3 separate regions of the Homo sapiens genome follow, and regions 1 and 3 are each linked to region 2. Evidence: promoter capture Hi-C in 16 types of primary human blood cells and fetal thymus (Javierre and others, 2016). All regions are on one chromosome and are shown on one strand. The core of a region is centred on a gene start or on the middle of the fragment in contact, and the rest is flanking DNA. Distances in the headings are between cores, read along the strand shown. Region 1 overlaps ZNF516 (zinc finger protein 516). Region 2 holds the start of FBXO15 (F-box protein 15). Region 3 overlaps ZNF516 (zinc finger protein 516).

The links. The method cuts DNA at HindIII sites, captures the fragments that hold promoters and counts their contacts. A CHiCAGO score of 5 or more calls a contact.
Region 1: a contact is called between a fragment that was not itself captured here and the fragment with the promoter of FBXO15 in region 2, in 1 of 17 cell types (activated CD4 T cells). The highest score is 5.4, in activated CD4 T cells.
Region 3: a contact is called between a fragment that was not itself captured here and the fragment with the promoter of FBXO15 in region 2, in 1 of 17 cell types (monocytes). The highest score is 6.5, in monocytes.

What each region holds. Positions count from the first base shown.
Region 1 is chr18:76,486,702-76,490,452 of GRCh38, forward strand. All of the region lies in intron 1 of ZNF516 (zinc finger protein 516), which reads right to left. Among named protein-coding and RNA genes, the nearest start is that of ZNF516-AS1, 3.1 kb to the right of the region's middle. The HindIII fragment of the contact is 2,569 bases long and covers 556-3,124 here.
Region 2 is chr18:74,145,349-74,149,202 of GRCh38, forward strand. It overlaps FBXO15 (F-box protein 15), which reads right to left and starts at 2,486. Exons shown (of 10, transcript NM_001142958.2): 1 at 2,322-2,486. The coding sequence starts at 2,437. It overlaps TIMM21 (translocase of inner mitochondrial membrane 21), which reads left to right and starts at 3,175. Exons shown (of 6, transcript NM_014177.3): 1 at 3,175-3,761. The coding sequence starts at 3,461. RefSeq lists a silencer at 2,216-2,365 and enhancers at 3,056-3,175, 3,206-3,255, 3,336-3,425. The HindIII fragment of the contact is 3,433 bases long and covers 1-3,406 here.
Region 3 is chr18:76,398,262-76,402,226 of GRCh38, forward strand. All of the region lies in intron 3 of ZNF516 (zinc finger protein 516), which reads right to left. Among named protein-coding and RNA genes, the nearest start is that of ZNF516-AS1, 91 kb to the right of the region's middle. The HindIII fragment of the contact is 2,089 bases long and covers 296-2,384 here.

The DNA.
Region 1 (3,751 bases), core at 590-3,089, 2.3 Mb after region 2:
CACCAGATTCCCTCTGCCTTGAAGATAACAAAACACACTAAGATTTCATCCCATTTTCACCACTCAGTTGAGGAACTGTCTGGATTTCACAATTACATACGATATACATCTCTTCTCGGCCCAGTAAATTCTGAGATTCTATAGACTTTACTTACTTCCTGACCAAGGTTCGGGGGGAAGGTACAGAAACAGGAATACGAAGTAAATCTACCAGAATTAACACAGAGTTAAAATACAGTATATGGTAAGATGTATCTAAACCTACTATAGTTGTCTTTTAAATAATTTTTCCTACTCTCCTGCTTGTGTTTTAGTCATCACTTAACATATATTTACATGTTTGCTTTCTAAAAATAGTTGCATTTCTAATTACTCCTGCTTTGTAATTTTCAGTACCATTTGAATTAAAGATTAAATGCCAGATCTTTTTTGGAAATGACTTTTAAGGCATGTTGAGAGCCACAAATTACACTGCTTTACAATTCGAATGTATACCATCGGAAAACATCTCAGGCTAGACATAAATACGATGATGGCTCTAGCTTTGGAAAGAGAAGCTTCAGCTGTTCAAGTCACGTGTGGCCAGATGCAGAGCATAAGGAATGCAAAACAGACAGTTGCAACTGCTGGTTTTTACCAGTCCATCTAAAATACACTTCGTACACTGTAGTGGATGCTAGAAATTTCAAATACAAATGATGCATTTATAGCCCCTATAAATATATCCTTCCTTATAGCTATTTAAGTCATTCCCCTAAAATATTCTTCAGTTAGAAAAATTAATTTTAAAATAAAGATACTTTTTAAAGAACAGGAGACATTCTAAAGTCATAGTAAAAGTTGTTCTTTCTTCCTCCTCCTCCCATAAGGTTAATTTTATTAATTATTCATAAATGTAAACATTTGACATGATTCTTTTCTTACAATAGGTTTGTGCCTTTTCAAAATTCCTGAAAATCGAACGATTCTGATAGTTCTCATCCAATGGTGGGTGGGAGGGTGGTCTTAACTGAGGGCAGAGGTCATTCCTCTATCAAAGAGAATGTCCTGCCCCACTCCCAAACTCACTGGTTCCTGGGACCAGAGAAAACTGAGGCCAGAGCTTGAATTTGAAAAATGCTGTCTCCTCTATGGCCCCTAGATACATTCCCGTAATAGGCTGCTGCCACTACACTTTCGGCCAGTCAGGTGGAAGGACTGAGGATGAGAGCCCCCAGGAGGGGAGGGAGAAGAAGGGAACAGCTACACTGTCAGCTCATGCCACCAGTTAGCGACCAGCCCAAGGGGAACCTAACCAAACAGTCGAACAACCAAATAATCACTGCTGCACAAACAGAGGCTTGTCCACAGCCCCCACCTCCATCTGCCTCCGAGAACCTCCACATCCCTCGGTGCCTCTCATACACGGGGAGATGTATTCCAACCATCACCCACTCAGACCCCACAACGGATGCACAGCCTGACACTACAATTCACTTGAAAAATGCAACTCTAAATGAGATGCAGCTCCCAACAACAGAGTAGGGGCCGCTTCCAAGGCCCTGTGAGCTAAATACAGTAATAAAATTAGTTCTTCACGTTTAGCCATTAACAATGCTGGAAGTGAAGCTCCAAGGTGCCAATTCGCAGGCAGCCAGGAAAGGCCTTTTTGCGGGATGCTAGTTAGGCAATAAATGCAAATTCAGGGAAGCAAGGATGTGCAAAGGAAGTCAGAGCGGCACACGTCCAGCTCCCCGAGCAGTGAACAAACCCACGGGTATTCCTTGGACTACGTTCAGTAGATAGACAACTGAACTTTTCCCACAGCTTCTAGAACTTTTGAGGGGGAGGGGGAGGGGGAGGGACAGCAAAGAGATGCATTTTTGAAAGAACTAATTGAGTGTGTCAGAATAGCTTTATCCAAGCACTAAAATGTATAAACATTAACAGCATGAAAGATGTCTGCTTTTGAAGAAGAAATATGACTTCCAAGTTCAAACATTTATAATGCAGATACCTAATCAAATAAATTTAACTTTCTTCCATTACAGTTCTATTACTAATAATTAAATCCATGTCTATCACTGAGAAAGTTACACATCTCCAGTTAAATTTGGCCAGCTGAAAACCAAAGAGAAAGCTGATATGTGTTTCCTGCACATTTAATAGCAATGCCTTCTTCAGTTGGAAATCTAGTAATAAGCGAAATACCACTTTTAATTAGGTAATTAACAGAAGTCCTTTTCCCCTAAATCAAAATAGAGTAAAAAACAAAATAATGCATGTCTTCAACATTTAAACAAGCATATTATACAGGAAAGTGCACACGTTTGGACAAGCTCCCTGCTGCAGAACGCAGTGAGCTTATATTTCAGTCTCTATCTCTACAGCATTAAGGTATAATGCAGCTGAAACTCTAAACACAGTCTCCAGTCAGACTTACAACCACTCCCACCAAATTCTTTTTAAAAGATTCCTTCTCTTAAATTATAAATAAGACCAATACGTATTCTGGAAAATGAACAAATAAAAATCCACAACGACCCAATACACTGAGTACTGGTTTTTCAAGAATAATCCATGACTAAACTCTACGTAAATTGCTAGGTCACATTATCATTTTTCCCCATTTGGTAAGACTGAAAACCATCTGTTGGAGTATACCTCATTTCAAAGTATTCTTTACAGAAGTCTCCTTTCCTTTTTCACATACGTTGCTAAACTTAATCACATCAAATGCTTCACTTATAAAACTCAAATATCTCCTTGCAGGGGGAAGTTAGGTAAATGGAATTAAAAGTTTCATTTATGAAAGTGGAGACAAAGTGCTTTTCACATTGTGACCTGTTTTCAAAGACCTCTCTCATTCCCTTCAGTCAATTTTGGTCTCTGGGACAACATCTTACAAAAAAAAAAAAAAAAAAAAAGTTAGAAATGTAGGACTTCAGGGTTCCAGGAAAAATAAAATCTCTAAATTAGTAGACTCTGAAGGTTGTTTACAGATAACAATGGGAAAACATTGGTGAGGTAAACTATTCTCAGGGTGTCAACAATTCATAGCAGACACATTTCTCAAAGTTAAAGTTCTTGATCTAGTGTATTTCAGGATATTAAGCCATCTGGAAAGATTATTCTAATAAACAAAAGCTTTCAGAAATAAAAATAGGCATAACTCCCATCTCTCTGCATTGTTGAAAGCTGTACCTACTAAACCTGCTATTTTGGTGTTGTGTTTCATTCTAGCGAGGCATCCCCATTCCTCTTGGTTAGTTTTATTACAGATCCACCGGGATTATTATTTTTTTAGAAGGTTAATGCGCTCTGGTGTTTCAGTATATTCAAATTAGCAAATGTTAAGAAAACAAAGCCCTACTAATGAATTAAGAAAAACATTAGACATGCTTGTGCCTTAACACACCAAAATTCAAATTCAATTACCAAAATATTTGTGAGTCTTACACAGAATTCAGTTCATCCCAGAGCCCATTCAAGATGGCCATGGGGGTCACTCCTGTGAAATTAAAGACGTCCTCCTACAAGTAACCCAACTCTCAAACCCCTGACACCACGGCAGGCTCCTACGCAACTTCACTCTCCAATTTTACTAAGGGGGGGCGAGGGGTTCTCAGACCCATGCACAATAGTGGTATGTGGCATATTTAATTCTGGCTGGTCTGTGTAAATATAAATAACAGTTACCTGACGACATAATCAAAGAATGCAAGTGAAAATGAAGCTGGAACAAATGATAAAATGAGCTCTTTTTATTTTA
Region 2 (3,854 bases), core at 1,236-3,735:
CACAATTAAAATGGATCTCATAGAGTCCCTCATTTCAGTTTACAAGGCTAAGGCTCTAACAAGGCAACTAAAGAAACTTAAGGTCCCAAGCTAGAAGCAAAGACAGTCTCTGAGACGCCCATCTCCTTAATGTCCTGTCAGAGCTCTCTGTACCATGTCTTACATGAGACCATACATCTTATCAGTGTACCTTTTAACACTATTGGAAACACATTTCTATTTATCCATAAAATAAACCAACTGCACTTTTTTTTTTTTTTTTTTTTTGCGACAGAGTCTGGCTCTGTCGCCCAGGCTGGAGTGCAGTGGCGCTATCTCGGCTCACTGCAAGCTCCGCCTCCTGGGTTCACGCCATTCTCCTGCCTCAGCCTCCTGAGTACCTGAGCCTACAGGCGCCCGCCACCATGCCGGGCTAATTTTTTTGTATTTTTAGTAGAGACGGGGTTTCACAGTGTTAGCCAGGATGGTCTCGATCTCCTCACCTCCAGATCTGCCCGCCTCCGCCTCCCAAAGTGCTGGGATCACAGGCGTGAGCCACTGCACCCGGCCCCAATTGCACATTTTTAAGGTCCACATAATTAACAAATCAGCAAGTTCTATTTATGTTTTTATGCGAATCTATACGTCTACAAGGTTAAGTGTAGACATACACTGATACATTTAGCAAGATAAATTTAGTTTGAAAACACTTTTTTTCAAGTGACAGGTTTTTGTCTGATAGCTTTCAATAAGTCCAATATTTTAAAAACCTAATGACTGTGCTTCATTTTAAATATCTGGCAAATCAAATAAATTACAGCAGGTACAAATTAAGCCAACTTAATACGCTTTCTGCTACACTTCTTACAGTTTGTGATATTTATACATATTCACATTTTGTGTTAAAAGGGAACACTGATTCCTTAACAACATCTAATTTTCCACAGCGATATATTAAAATAACCACCTGCTTTGACCATAGTCAATCATTCTATTTTTAGCAGCGGACTTTTCTTTACCAAAAATAATGCATACATTTCCAAATCAGCTTGAAATGCAGGTTCCCATGCCAGGCATAATGACAGGCCCTCTAATTATATCAATCCAGGAAGTTCACTCAACTTACAAAGGATAAAAGATTCATCATATAAAAATCATTCTGCTTCCCCCTAATAGAGCACTATGTAAAGACTAATTTTAGTAATAGCAGCAAATTGATTAAAAGTTCAAGTTTCCTATTTAAATTCCTGCTTTTTCTCCTACATAAAAGAATTTTTGCAGGCATTGTCACCATTCTATTTGTGACAAGGCTTGTGGTATGTCTAGCATTATAGGTATTCAATTAAGAACTATTATCACAGCACTAAGCAACAGGGCTGGGCTTCTGAAAACAGGTAAGTGGAAGTAATGGAGACCTAGAGAGGACACAGGACATAGTTCTGGAGATTCAGGGGGAAAAAACAAGTAGTTCAACTAGTATGTAATAGACTCCCTTTGTGTGCTTAAACATAGACCATTGGTTTATTAGAAGGCAAAATATGCATGACTTTCCCTATTTATAAATCAAGGAGTCTTACAAGCAGAAAGATAATCCTCAAGAATGTAAACCATTCTTGGCATTATCCCTCCATCTGTAAACTAACTGCAGTGATGGGTACACAGCTAGGGAACAGCTCACGATATAATGAGAGGGATTTCATAAGGTACCATTATGCATGCTGATACTTCTGATGCACTGGCTCATTTTACTTCTTCACGCTGAAGATGCTTCTGGAAAGCAGATGAGCAAGACCTGGCAATGTAGATGGCAACTTAGCCTTGACGTTGGAGGTGCAGAAAGTGCTGCCCCCCACCCGCCAGACCAACCTGCCTGCCCGAGGTATCTGCTTGGGGGATGAGGGTGTCAACTGATAAGGTTTTGATGAACAGACTCTACTTCCCTAAGTTGTAAGGTCATGAAAAACACGAAGGGAGATTCTTGGTTACAGAAGAGCGAAAATACGAAGGCAGGGGCGGAGCACACGTGAATTTAGGGCACGCATCCCGGAGAAACGACCTCTTGGACCTGCACCTGTCCTGGCAGGTGCGCGCATCCCCGGCCACAGGCGCCGCAAGAAAAAATATTTCCCCGAGAGGCTACTCTATTTGTGTCATAACTTAGGGTACCCCACGTTGCAGGGTAGAAAGGATTTCCTCCGGTCGTTCTTCCATACCCTTCTCACGTTGAAGACGGCCACGGGCCTTGCGCCAAGCTGGACGAATAAAATACACGGTGAAGAGAGCGGGGCCGCGCAGTGACGGGCTTCCCGCCAGGGGACCCCACCCGCAGGCCCTACAGTCACCTGCACCCAAAGGCCCTGGCGCGCCCCCGGGCCGCGCCACCGCCCCTGCTGGGCCCGCGCAGCGTCTGGAGGCCGAGCCAGTGCTGCTGCAAGATCCGACCGCGTCCAGTCGCCATAGAGACAAGGAGTTCACCACAGGACCGCGCCAGGGCTGAAACGAAGAGTGCACGCACCGCCCCCACGCCCGCACGTCGCCACACCCCTTATGCGCATGCGCGCGTGAGCAAAAGTAACGGTATGCCCACCCTTGCGCAGACGGCACCGCGCCAGACACCCGCTCACAGAGCGGGCTTCTAGAAACTTCCGGGCCTCGGCTTCCTTACCCACCCCTAACATTCTGCCGCCTAGGGCGCCAAGCCAAGTTCGCGGCTTAACCATTTAGGAAACCGGTGCCTGCTTTGCAGCGGCCTCGTTCATCCCCACTTGCTGACTCTTTATTGTCCAGTTTTTCTGAAAACACAGTAAAACGCAAAAACTAAATCATTTGCCCACGCGGAATTGGCAAGACCACAGTCCAAGGGGGTATTTCCCACTGTGCACAGTCCTCTCTATAAGGATCAGGAAAACACGTAGATTGTAACTGCTAATTTGGCTTTTGCAAGTCCCGCCTGAACCACGTAGGGTGGGTGGTACCAATTCCCCCACCAACACCCCACTTTCCGCCGCTCCAGGGACGCGCAGCGTCTGCGCCGACGCTGGGCGCGGAGGCGTCTGGGGGCGCGGGAAGGACCTGCGCCGTGCTCTGGCCGCCTTGAATTGTGGGAGATGTAGTCTCTTTTGCGCGCCTCTTTGCCGTATCCCAGTTAAGAGCGAGGTTTTCAAACTACTATTCCCAGGAAGACGGGGGTTTCCCAGGTGACTTTGCGAAGGCATGGCGGGGACACTGTGAATGTCAGCCCAGAAGGTGATCAGAGCCTGTTAATTAAAATGGAAAGAAGACAGAAGGGAAGGTAGACATCAGGTTCTCCCTGGAGACTTTTCGTTTTCATTTACGCTGCGGAAACTGACGTTTTTGCCTAACACCCCATGTAATGTAAACGTATAGGCTTGAGTACGTGTCCGGCCGCATGTGTAGTGAACCCTAAAGCTTTCCTAATTGTAGTTAGCATCGTCCCTAAGCGGAACGATTTTCCGTGAACATGATTTGTACTTTTCTACGAGCCGTACAGTATACGGAGAAGCTGCACAGGTCCTCGGCAAAGCGATTGCTTTTGCCATACATCGTGCTTAACAAAGCGTGCTTGAAGACTGAGCCCAGTTTGAGATGTGGGCTTCAATATCAAAAGAAAACGCTGCGACCTAGATGTATTCTTGGAGTCACCCAGAAAACCATCTGGACGCAGGGACCGAGCCCCCGAAAAGCAAAGGAGGATGGCAGCAAACAAGTGTCTGTGCACAGGAGTCAGAGAGGGGGAACCGCCGTCCCAACATCACAAAAAGGTAAAAAGGAGTACTTTAATGATTGGGCTTTCAACAGACATGACAAGAGCTGCCAATGCCCTTTTATACCAAGTTCACTGCTAAAGGTGAAAA
Region 3 (3,965 bases), core at 90-2,589, 2.3 Mb after region 2:
AGCCAACCAAAACACATCCACTGGAGAAAATACAATCAATATATTCTTTTATTATTTTTTAAAACATGGCAAACCATACTTTAATCAGAGAGCAATGAAGATTTCCACTTACAAATTTATCCAAGTTGGCAAAAAATAATTAGCTAACACGAATCTTTCCTTGTATGACGCAGCTGTCTGAAGCAGATGCCAGCTAGCACAAAGGCCGTACATGAAGTCTTATCAAGAATGGTGGCGGGGACTGTCGGGAAGAAGGTGCTGACGCCGCTGGTAGATGTTAGAATGAAAATAAGGAAGCTTAGAGTAAGGAGGAGAGCAGGAAAGCCAGGCCCATAACACTAGTTATGAAGGAATGGGGGCCTTTCTGAAGGAATGGGGGCCTGGAATCTTCCAACAGGAGTCACAAAGAATACAATTAAACCACTTGTGTGTTTTCTCCTACACAAAGTGTTTTAAGAGGCATAGGAGGGAGTAAGTCTCAGGAAGAGAAATAACACTGTACACTTCTCCGACTTAAAGCCAACTAATATACACACAAACTAGCTAGCACCTGCATGGCTTTCTACAACTTTTTCTATTGCGATGCATAAATGTCCAAAAACACAGAATCCAAATTCCGTGTCTTTTACAAAGAAACTGTAATGAGTCTTTAAAAAAAAAAATCAGGATCACTTATTAGTAGAGTCTTCAGATTTAAAATCAGGCATGTGTCTGACTTACGGAACAAAGGCCATTTCATAACACAAGCGGTCTCTGTCCTCCGTGACAGAGGAAGGCGGATTTCCCCGAGGCATCCTGGCAGCCCGCGCAATGCATGGAAGCTACCACTAGATGGCACCTGCGCCCAAGCTATAGCCCGACTCCCTCCTGGTGCTGGTGCTACGCGTGTGGTCCCCGTACATGGAAGAGCCATCCACTTTTCAACAACAGGCATTTATCTGCAAAAGACTTACACCAAGAGCTTGCCTTAAAAGATCATCAGGACAAATGCAAAATGCACATGTCTTATGAAGCACAGCACTGTCAGTATAGCAATGCATCCTTTTGATCTGCATCTTACATTTCAGTTTGCACCTTCAACAATATTTTCAGAGGCTAAAAATGCAGAGGGCTTTAAATTAATAATATATTTGCATTTTGGCATAGACGGAATTAAGCAAACTATGTCCATGAACATTACATGTGGGGGATTATATATATAGTCAGCATATCCAACTTCAAAAATGTCCAACCTTGCAAAAACTTACTCAAATGTAATGAGTTAGCAATTGACTTAAAGTATGTTAGTCATTTAGTAACTGACTTGAAAATGCTCTCCATGCTGGCTTCAAGGCAGCTCATCTCAGCGAAAGCCTGGGTGCGTTCTAAGCGCTAGAGAGGAGGTTCAGGAAAACAGCACCTAAGTTGTCTTCTGTCACCTCTAGACTCGAGGTCCACAGGTCTGACTTCTAGCCCCAGGGCCCCCCTGATACTGTATAAGTCGGGAAACACTCTCATCCCTTGAACATAGCTCTGGGTGACATCGTCCATTCAATACCGGTCCCAGGTGGTCACCACCTGCAGGAGGAGACCCAGCCACCAGCCCTCACCATGTTTCTGCTTGGAACCAGCAATAATCACTTAAGATTGTGAGTGACATGTGGATGAAATGGAAACTGCTAAGATACCTGGCTCTTTGGCCTAGTTTGGTCTCCCAGTGGGGTGGTTTCAAGGGTAAGGATGTGCCTCTCCCACCGTGGGATGAGCAGACCATCACCGCAGAGCAATCAGCCCTGCCCAAGGGCAGCAGCCCTTCTGAAAGTGGCCCTTCCTGCACACGCCCCCACTTTAGCAAACTCAGGCAGGAGGGTGTGAAAGGGCTGGAAATTCAGAGTGAGCAACTGGAAGGGGAGACAGATGGAGGGACAATTTCCCAAGAGGCCGACTTGGGGCAGAAGCCAGAGAGGGAAAAAGACAACCCCCAGGTCTGAGCCTAGGCCAGAGATGAACACAGGAGCAGGCGAGGCTCACGGTGTTCACGACACAATTTTCTAAGTCCTTTCACAGAGGTTTATGTTACAATTATTGTCATTCTTTGGGTACTGTGATGTGTGTCTTCTGGTAAGACGGACTGAATAATTTGAGAAACAGCTATTTCTGAGCACTTGGTAGGATTTGCTACCTAAACGCCCAGAAAGTTAAAACTTCATTATTTTAGGACACTAAATAAACAAATAAACATCCCAGCTTTCCCCATTAGACATTCTTACTCTTATCGTTCTGATGAATTCACAACCTGGCTGGTACTGACCCCGTACTTGGTTGAGTGTGGATTATAAAGCTATAAGCAGAGAGGGGTGACCAAATGGAATCAAACTACGTAGGCACGGCCTGTCTGGTTAGGAAGCTTGTCCACACAGAAAGCCAGGCAAAACTAAAGCATGTTATGGTTACACATATATAAACAAATGTGAAACATGTAGGTTTTCTACAGCTCCCACATGCAGAGTTCAAACTATTATGTAATATAAATATTGAGTCTCAGAAGTTCCAGTCCACCATGGATACCTAAGGAAAAGATCTGACATTTTACTTAAAAATTTCAGCAACTCTCCCCAAATCACAACACTATATTGTTCCTGAAATATCTCAGGCAGGCTTCCTTAATCACACTGTAAGTTGTAACAAAAGGGTTGTAATTATAGTGTCCATTAAAATGATGTAAACACAATATATATATATATACATTTCTCCTTCAGACTTCATTCCTTCGTTTTCCTCTTCTCTCCTATTTTTAAAAAGAGGAAATAACTGTATTTTCCTTTCCTGTACATCTTAACCCATTTATGCCTAGTGTTCCATTATTGGAACGCTAAGCTCATGGGAGTTATTTATATCCTACTGCTCAAGGTTGTCACCAAGGTCTGATTTTTCACTAAAAAAAGAAATTTGCAACCTCCGGCATAAATGGGTTAAGTTTTGTTCTTATAGTTCACCTTCAATTTATCTTTTTTTTTTTTTTTTTTGTGAACCAAAAAAAAGAATTTCAAGCCCCAATTGAACAATGCCTCAGACAAATCTCTGGAAAGCCCTAATTACTGCATTTATCTTCTCAACCACTCAGTCATATTTCTATTTTGAGAAGGAGTTACAAAATAATATCTCTGCAACTGTTTCGCAGGAGCTCGTTGACCAAGCTGGAGCCCTGGATCTATGAATTCAAAATTTTGAAAGCTAAGTAAGCTGTTTTCCATCAAGTACTACATCAAAAAGCTGGTCACAAGAGGCCAAGCCTAAGTCCGTCCCTCTCCGCCCACGGGCTTCTCCGAGGCCATCTCCGAAACGCCCTGCAGCTGCTGGCAGAGCCCGCATGGGCCCCTATGTGGCCCCTGGACAGACCGACGGCACTCCTGGGGCAAGGTGAGCCCGGAGCACAACCGGCCTCCCAGTCAGTTCCTTCCCGGGGCTCTCAGAGCCAACCACACCCCCGCGCCGCATCTCTCCACCACCAACCACACCCCCGCGCTCCATCTCTCCACCAACCACACCCCCGCGCCGCACCCCTCCACCACCAACCACACCCCCGCGCTCCATCTCTCCACCAACCACACCCCCGCGCCGCACCCCTCCACTACTGTTTATAGGCTCTCAAGAGGGACAGGGAAAACCAGTATTGTTTGAGTGCCAACTCTGCATAAACAATTTCCACAGAATGACTGCACATGCATGTGCGTGCCTATGTGCATGTGTGTACGCGCGTGTGTACACGTTTGTGTGTACACGTGCGCGCATGTGTGCACGTGAACGTGACCAGTGGTCTCTGCATCCCACAGGGAGGGGAGGGCTTCTCTGAAAAGAAATTGTATATGCACAAGCCTTAGCCCCGCGCCTTCTATTTGCTGAAGACATCGCCTCGGTCAACACCAATGAATTCATTTACTCTGTGAATACAAATCCCGCCAGTGGCCACAACAATCCCTCTTGCT